Linked DNA regions of Homo sapiens: region 1 is linked to region 2. The links are contacts of gene promoters, found by promoter capture Hi-C in blood cells and fetal thymus (Javierre and others, 2016). All regions are on one chromosome and are shown on one strand. Each heading gives the region's core, a stretch centred on a gene start or on the middle of the fragment in contact. The rest is flanking DNA. Distances are from core to core; before and after follow the strand shown. Region 1 overlaps ANO10 (anoctamin 10). Region 2 holds the start of SNRK-AS1 (SNRK antisense RNA 1).

Region 1 (4,403 bases), core at 1,561-4,060, 130 kb before region 2:
CCTGAGATCCCATGGTTCTCTAAAGGCATGTCAATGAAAAGAGTCAAACTCTGTGAAGTATTTGAAGAGACTTATTCTGAGCCAAATATGAGTGACCAATGGCTCATGACACAGCCCCAGGAGATCCTGAGAACATGTGCCCAAGGTAGTTGGGCTACAGCTTGGTTTTATACATTATAGGGAGACATAAGACATCAATTGGCTGGGGGCGGTGGCTCACACCTATAATCCCAGCACTTTGGGAGGCCAAGGCAGGCGGATCACGAGGTCAGGAGATCAAGACCATCCTGGCTAACACGGCGAAACCCTGTCTCTACTGAAAATACAAAAAATTAGCTGGGGGTGGTGGCACGCACCTGTAGTCCCAGCTACTCGGGAGGCTGAGGCAGGAGAATTACTTAAACCCAGGAGGCGAAGGTTGCAGTGAGCTGAGATCACACCACTGCACTCCAGCCTGGGTGACAAGAGCAAGACTCTGTCTCAAAAAAAAAAAAAAAAAAGAAAAAAAAAGAAAAAAGACATCAATCAATACATACAAGATGTACACTGGTTTAGTCCAAAAGGTTCTCTGAGGTTCAGGCACTGTGGACTGTCATTTTAGTGTGATTTGGAAAGCCTCTGGCTTCCAGGTCATAGGTGGATTAAAAGATTTTCTGACTGGCAATTGGTTGAAAGAGTTATTATCTAAAAACATGAAAATCAGTAGAAGGGACTGTCTGGGTTAAGATTAAGTGATTGTTGAGACCAGGGTTTTATCATGCAGATGAAGCCTCCAGATAGTGGGCTTCAGAAATAATAGATTGTAAATGTTTCCTATCATTTCTGTCAGTCTTAAGGTCTCTGTTTTGATGTTAATGCTGGTCAGCTGGGCCTGAATTCCAAAGGGAGGAGGGTATAATGAGGCATGTTCAACCCCCCATGTCCCATCATGGCCTGAACTAGTTTTTCAGGTTAGCTTTGGAATGCCCTTGGCTGAGTGAAGGACCCTCAGTCAGATGGGGAGCTTAGAATTTTATTTTTGGTTTATAGGCACAAATTGAGTATCAGTCTTAGTACCTGGCATAATTTAAAAACTACATTTTACTCATTTTTTTCACTTACAGTTGACCAAGCAAATTCAGCTTTTTTATCTAATCATATTTTGTTTTTATAAAAGTAATTCATATAAATAATTTTAAAGGTCAAATATTCCTTTAAGAGTAATAACAAAAGAATGGGTCTCTGCCCTTTCCCAATTTCCTAGAGTATATGACTCAAATTTTTAGCCCTTTTTCTGCTGTTTACCTCTATATTTCTAAATACTATGTCTTTCAGTTTTATTGACTCTCTACTATAAAATATGAATGTTTTTATGTTCCATCTTGCCAGTGTAATTTCACATCACAACTTTTGGTTAAATCAGTGATTGTATTGTTATACAATTAGTATATTGTATTATTATACAATTATTATACAATAATACAATGTAGTGGTTGTATTATTATGCACATTGTATTTGTAGATAAGTACGTAGTGTGCCATGATTATGTTTCCTTAAGCATAATTGAGTTGAAAACGGCCTTGTTTTTTCTTTGTTTGGTTTCTGTGTACCTATCATTGATTCTTTCCTAAACATAGTGTGCTTAAACACACCAGACAGCCTCTCAGTGTGTTGTGTTGTTTTCCTTGGAGAGGGTATTTCTGGAACTGTGGTGTTCCCTTCCCATTTGGGCAGTTCACCTCCAGACTGGCTGCAGGGTTTCTGTCCTCACTTCCCAACTTCTTGGGAATTCACTTGGCTTCTCGTTTACCACCCCTTTCTTGTAACCCCCTCCTTTATCTTGGCAGGTTCATGAGAGATAGTTTGGAATCTTGCATATCTGCAGACATCTTTATGCCCATCTGCCCTCCAAATTTGGAAGACATTACCCATTGCCTCTAACATTGCTGTTGAGAGCCTAATGCCAGCCTGACCCCTGATCCTTTACACGGGGTCTGTTCATTCTCTCTGGAAGCTTTCACAGTCTTCTCTTTATCCCTGGTGTCTGACATTTCACAATGATATGCCTTTGTGGTCTCCTCGATCAGAGGGACTTAACACTTGCAGACACCTGTTCTTCAGTTCTGTGAAATCCTTGAATTATTTCTTTGAGAATTATCTTTTCTCCATGTTCTATCTTTATTTCTGGCCCTCTGTTGCATTTTCTGGACTTACCATTTGTTGTATGTTTTCCCCCTATTTTTGTGTCTCCTTGTTTGTTTGGGTTCTTCTGTCTATTTTGAGATTTTCTCAACTGTATTTCCCAATTCTTCTATTGAATGTCAGCAATCATAAGTTTAGTATCCAAGAGCTCTTTTTTATTCTCTGAATGTTCCCACCTCCTTTTAGAAAATAGCATTCTGTACTTTATTTCATGAATGCAGTATTATCCCTCTGTACTTTTCTTCTGATCTCTGCTTTGTCTCTGTTTCCTCCTAATTCCTCTTTTAGTGGAAAGGCGTTTTCATTATTGTGTTACTGCCCCTGGTGCTGCCTGTAGTTCAGTCTCACTTGATAGGAAGTCTTGTGTCTTCCACTGGATGAGAGAGGGGATGGGACTTTGAAGGATAGAGAGGGGTCAAGGAGTGTCTTCTGCCCTTCTGCAGCCGTTCTGAGGTCCTAGGCTCTATCTCCTGGGGTTCTCCAAGGCCCAGGCACTGTGGGCTATCATTTTATGGTGATTCAGAAGGAGGGGAGAGCAGACGTAAGTTCATCTGTTTAATCCAGAAGTCTCCCAGGTCTCCAGGTCCCAGTATTACACTTTGACTTTAACCATTTGGTAATTAACTTTTCTCCTACTTAGTCTATCCACTTAGAAATGTCTGCAGCCTTCAACTTTCCTTTTTCCCTCCCTCCTTTCCTTCCTTTCAAAAAGCTCTCTTCAGGGCAGATGTACCAATCACATTTCATTAGAGGTCTTTACTTCTCTGGTTCTTTTTTATTGTTGAGTACTGTGAATTTGGTAATTTTTCATAGATTATTGAACTTTAGATTGACCAACTTCTGAATTAATAAATATATCAAAGTTTAATATTTATTTTTTATTTCTAACTTCACCTACTTGAAAAAGAAAGCAACAACAATGTTTAAAATGTAAATAGGATAATTAGGTATAGAAACTTTCAGAGAACATCTGGGATAACAGGGACTGTGTGTTTTTACCACATGAGACATGATACAGCTTTTATACAATTAGGCCTTAATGCTTGCTCTTATATTTTCATGTTAGCACGAGTGAAAAGGAAAAGGTAGTGCCTCTTTTCTGTTATTAAACAAAAGGATCAGGGAACCTTGATTAACACAATAATCTATGCACGAGTGAAAAGGAAAAGGTAGTGCCTCTTTTCTGTTATTAAACAAAAGGATCAGGGAACCTTGATTAACACAATAATCTATGTCCTCAAGGATAGTTTTAGAAAACCATTCAGATGGTTCACTATAGTTTCTAAAGTGCCCTAACTTGTGGAGGCATTTCTGTAGGGGGCTATAATATTATAAAACAGGTACTTGGGTTTGCTTTTAGATGCTCTAACCTTAAAATGGAGACAATTTGGAAGTCTAAGGATATATCAGACTTTTTAAAAACTATTTGACTTCTCAAGCTTTTGCCAAATGTTTGATCACAGTCAATTTATTATTGAATTATCTGCTACATATGTATGGTGTGAATAATCTGTGTTTGAAAATGAGAAAAATTGTACTGTGTCAAATATGAATACTACATAGGAGTGAGAGCTAAGCATTAATGTAAATTAATTACTTGTGCCAAAGACTTCTCCCCACTAGGAGGACAGCCTGTGTTAGCACAAGCATAAACCATCAGAGTAGACAGAGCCACTATTTTTCTGATTGTGATGATGTTGGAATTTCTCACTCACACATAGTCACTACAGTGAAATGAAAAAAGCATGGGTCCTGGAGTCAGACAGCTAAGATCCTGGCTTCAGATCTCACTAGCTAGGGGAAGTTACTTTCCAGACCTTAATTTCTTAATCTATAAAATGGGTGGTTAAAGTCCCTACTTTAAAGGGTTTGTTAGGATTGGGCTTTTCATTTATAAAACACATAGCACAGTGGTGAGGTCATAATAGATGGCTGCTGTTTTTTAGGTTGCTGATTTCAGAATTATCATTTTGCATAGAAGAGGCAACTTTGACAAGGACATTTTAAGGCATCTGTTCTGACTAACCCCAACTTCCATCTCCAGAACCTCACTCCATGTGGCTTGTATAGACAGCTCACTAACTCTGTGACCTTGGCCAGGATACGTAACCTCTCTGATCCTCAGTTTCCTTATCTGTCAAATGGGAATAAATGTAGTTTCTGCCTCATAGGGCTGTTGTGAGCATTAAATGAGTAAATATATGAAAAGCACTTAGAATAG
Region 2 (4,513 bases), core at 1,416-3,915:
TTAGGCCCTAATAGCTCAAAAAGGGCTACATCCTATTTCCCCTTCTCATCTGTCTCTCCCCAGATCCCAGAAGTCTGAGAAACCTCGTCCCTGCTGAGCAGCTGTAGGGGGCAGAAGGGCCATGGATTGATAACCACCCGAAGTGTGACATCTCCTGTGTTTGGCCTGTTCAAGGACTAGCAAGGAGGTTATTGCAGCCAGAGCTGAATGAGCAAGTTGAGAGGAGCAGATGTGATAACTGGGGCAGAGGACACACTAGGGCCTTGTGGGCCACCACACAAGGATTAAACTTTTAAATCTGAGATGGAAAGCCATGGAAGGATTTTGAGCAGGGGAGTGACCCACTATTTAGACTGCTGTTTCTGGCCAGGATAGAATTAGAGGAATTTGATTGACCCTCTTGCCTTAAACAACTAGGAAACCAAACAAAATATATGGAGCAATAGTTTCCAGACATTGAGCAACAGACAGCATAGGGCTGTCACCCCGAGAGAAGGGAGGCAAATGAGGTGAGCCCTGAGTTGAATGCCCCAGCTCACTGCCCAAAGGCAGTTGCCAGAACACAGAGAGGGAAAGCCCAAATAGTCTGGTTGAGTTGAGCAGGTAGTTTGAAGTTCAAGATCAATGTGCAGGGCAGAGAGGAGGGAGCTGCACAGATAGTGAGCAAGCTCCAAAAGAAAATCTGTGGTCTTTGGTTGAGTACTGATCAGTACTTATGAGAAAACTACCTGAGGCTGGAGAAAGAACCACTGGAAAGCAGCAGGCTGAACAATGCTCAGAACTTACCCAAGGCTGGTAATAGTTCATGTTCCTACCAGCCAGAGTAGAAAAGCCTCAATAGAGTCCCTAGAGAGGTATTGCCTCAGTAGTGGGCCAAATTAGCCCTAGACTGAAGACTGCTCAGGATCTGCCCTAACAGTTTAAAAGTGAGACATGAAGGATCCAATGATTTTAAATAACTGCAGTCCAAAATGAAATCCAATACTTCTCACACGAATACAAAAAATTCCAGCATTCAACAATGCAAAATTCAGTGTCCAGCATTGCAATAAAAATGAATCAAGAATTTTTATACCCAATGATAATATCTTTCATAAAGGAAAAGTAATTTTTCAAAACAAAAGCTGACAGAATGTAATGCCAGCAGATCTGCATTATATGAAATGTTAAAGAATGTTCTACAGGCAGAAGGAAAACCAAACTGTGGATCTACACAAAGAAATGAAGAGTGCTGCAAATGACAAATATGTAGCTAAAATACTCCCCCCCCCCCTGTTTAATCCCTTAAAAACTAGTTAAAACAATATTTATACATATACAAAAATAAAATGTATGACAACAGTAGTATAAGGAACAGGAAGAGGAAAATAGAGGCATACAGTTGTAAGGTTTTTATATTCTACATGAAGTGATATATTAAGATAGACTGTGATATAATAAAATACATGTATTGCAAATCTTATAGCACCCCCTGAAAAACAAGAGTTACAGCCAATAAGCCAATAGCGGAGATAAAATGGAGTAACAAAAGGTGCTCAGTTAAACCAAAACAAGGTAGCAAAAGAGGGAAAAAGAACAGACGAGACAAATAGAAAACTAGGTAGGTTTAAACTCAACCATATTGACAATTACACTAAATGTAATACATCTAAACCCTCAATCAAAGACAGACATTTGCTGATGGGATAAGAAAGCAAGCTCGAACTATATGATATCTGCAAAAAACAAACTTTAAACATAAAGACACAATAGGTTAACAGTAAAGAATGGAAAAAGATATATTCTCACAAGTCAAAAAAAAGCTGGAGTTACTGTATCACTATCACACAAAGTAGATTTCAGAACAAATAGTTTACCAGTCATAAAGAAGGAACATTTCATGAGGAAAGGGATCAATTCATTGATATGACGTAACAATCTTAAATGCTTATGTACCAAACAACAGAGCTTCAAATTTTCTAAAATAACACTGCTAGAACTAAAAGGAGAAATAGACAAATCCACAACTATAGTTGGAGATTTCAACACTCCTCTCTCAATAATTGAGACAGAAAATCAGTAAGAATATAGAAAACTTGAACATTATCAACCAACTTGAACGAACTGACATGTATAGGACACTCCACCAATAGCACTTTCCAAGCACTCAGGAAACATTCACCAAGATAGGTCGTATGTTGGGCCATAAAACAAGTTTCAGTAATTTCAAAAGATTTAAACTATAGAAAGCATGCACTGATAAAAATAGAATTAAACTAAAAATTATAGAAACCTATGTGGGAAAACCCCAAATATTTGGAAACTAAACACGTTTCAAAACATGGTATGATTTAGCCTTTAAAATGATCTCTCATACTGCTAAGTGGAAAATAAATGAGAAAGACAAGGGCAAATGCAGGGAAACCCTTTAAGAGGCATTTACAGTTGAGTGTCATGGACTAGAGTGGTAGTGGTGGTGGCAATGAGAAGGAGTCAACTGTGAAAGGCAAGTTAAGATTTGCTCATAAACTGAATGTTGGGATGAAAAAGTGGATGACACCAAGATTTTCAGCTTGAATGAAACTATTGAAGGCTAGGAGTTGATATTTATTAAGATGGGTGCGCTAGTAAAAGGATTTGAGGGGAAAGATTAGGGGTTTTGAACTTGTAAAAATTGAGATGCTGTAGACACACAGACACATCCAAGAAGAAAAGTCAAATAGATAGTTGAAATCCAGTGTTCCCAGGGTATGTGGGCTAAATATATTTTGGGCTTCTATCAGCATATAGATACTAGACTAACTGAGATCAGGAGTCACTGCAGATAGAGCAGGGGTCCAGAATTGAACATTGGGACATTCCAAATTTAGAGGTTGGAAGAATGAGGAAGGACCAGTGGACATGAAGAGCAGCAAGGCAGAAGTGAGATACTGAAAGATGGGAAGTTCATAAGGAAGAAAGTGAGCAATTCATCAAATTCTAACATGGGATTGAAAATTGATCACAGGAAGTGGTTGCATGAGGCTGGAGTAAAGGGAGTTGCGGACAAGGTAAAGTATGCCAAAGGGCACAAGATTTCTTTGGCGGGCGGGGGGGGGTTGTAAAAGTCAATTATGGTAATGGTTGTGAGAACTGAGTAAGAGTAGCTGACCTTGGAATCACAGTAACAGGAGGAAGGGCAGAGCATGTGAATGTGTATGAAGGAAGGGAGGAAGGCAGAGGTGGGAACTTGTGGCAGTTCTCATTGCTTCCCTTTATTCAATTAGGCAGCATGGTGACCAGCAGAGTGAGGAAAGGAGATGAAATAGAGAAATAAAGTAAGTATACTTAATGGGCACCCTGGCCCCACCTATGATTTGTAGCCATGAGTTTAAACATAATAATGACTGTACTTTTTCAGCCAAATCTGGTGGTGCAGGCACAGGGCATGGAGAAGGCTGGGTCTAACTGAGGTGGGATCACACAAAGCTACACTCATGAGAAGCAATACAACACAGGACACGGTTTATATTGCTGAACACCAATATGTCACTTTATTATTTGGATTTTTTTTCCCATTTGTCACATACCTGTCAATGTTTACACAATGAGGGAAATCAACCAGCATTGGAAGCAACTGACCAAATCAGTTGATAATTCTGTACCCTCTTAACACACATCAATTTTCACTTGGTAGGGATTATCTTTAATTCGGTCTCACAGCTATTCTTAAAATTGGTGTCAAGATTGTCACATCTTTAAATACAGATAGAATTGCCAGAAGTACATAATTATATATATATACACACATACAGAAAAATACAAGACTGTTTTTCCACAATATTTAATTTATACACTACTGTAACTATATGCAACTTTTGAAGACAGGTTAAGGGGTACAAGTAACTGTTTAGAGCAAGTAAGTAGTTTGGTCCAATATTATCTTAATGTAATGGTTTTTCGCTCCCTCCCTTTTATGTGACGACATACTATGACATACAAAACATGCACAATCATTCACTTATAAACAAAGGAGTAAGACACCACTCAGACTGACATTTGTATACCCCAAGGGTCAACCACACAACTAATAAGGCTATAATACAGCTATGCAGCATAAATGGTCAACACTGCTGATCCTAAAGTGAGCACCATATATACATCTGAATATAAAAAACCATTGAAACCAAACACATATGGGTTAGTTAAAAGGTGCCATTCCAAGGCTATACATAATCACAGGAAAAAGTATTTACACTGCTTGGAAAACAGCTGCAACAAAGAGTTTATTGCCAATGCCCTTTATAAACTTCTCTCCTATGTTTAATACAGATGTTACGCTCACTATCTATGTGAACCACACATCTTATTTCTGGCCCTTTATAAGATCCCTGCTCAAGAATTTCAAGCAAATATGTTCTATGGCTTCACCCACACATCTATTCTCATAGCTTTCAAATTATAAATATCACAATGAACTAGAGCTGTAGCTTAAAACATCTAGCCTAGGTCTAGAAAGTAAAATAAGTATTTTAAGTATCATTTTTACTTAGTT

The links. Contacts are between HindIII fragments. The CHiCAGO score rates a contact against its expected background, and 5 or more counts as called.
Region 1: a fragment that was not itself captured here is called in contact with the fragment with the promoter of SNRK-AS1 in region 2 in 4 of 17 cell types (total CD8 T cells, naive CD8 T cells, naive CD4 T cells and 1 more); the score reaches 11.8 in total CD8 T cells.

Annotation. Positions count from the first base shown.
Region 1 is chr3:43,478,025-43,482,427 of GRCh38, reverse strand. The region is part of intron 11 of ANO10 (anoctamin 10); the gene reads left to right. Among named protein-coding and RNA genes, the nearest start is that of SNRK-AS1, 130 kb to the right of the region's middle. RefSeq lists an enhancer at 3,109-3,681. The HindIII fragment of the contact is 1,627 bases long and covers 1,997-3,623 here.
Region 2 is chr3:43,350,114-43,354,626 of GRCh38, reverse strand. It overlaps SNRK-AS1 (SNRK antisense RNA 1), which reads left to right and starts at 2,665. Exons shown (of 3, transcript NR_046757.1): 1 at 2,665-3,029; 2 at 3,246-3,296. It overlaps SNRK (SNF related kinase), which reads right to left. Exons shown (of 7, transcript NM_017719.5): 7 at 3,484-4,513. The HindIII fragment of the contact is 8,620 bases long and covers 1-4,513 here.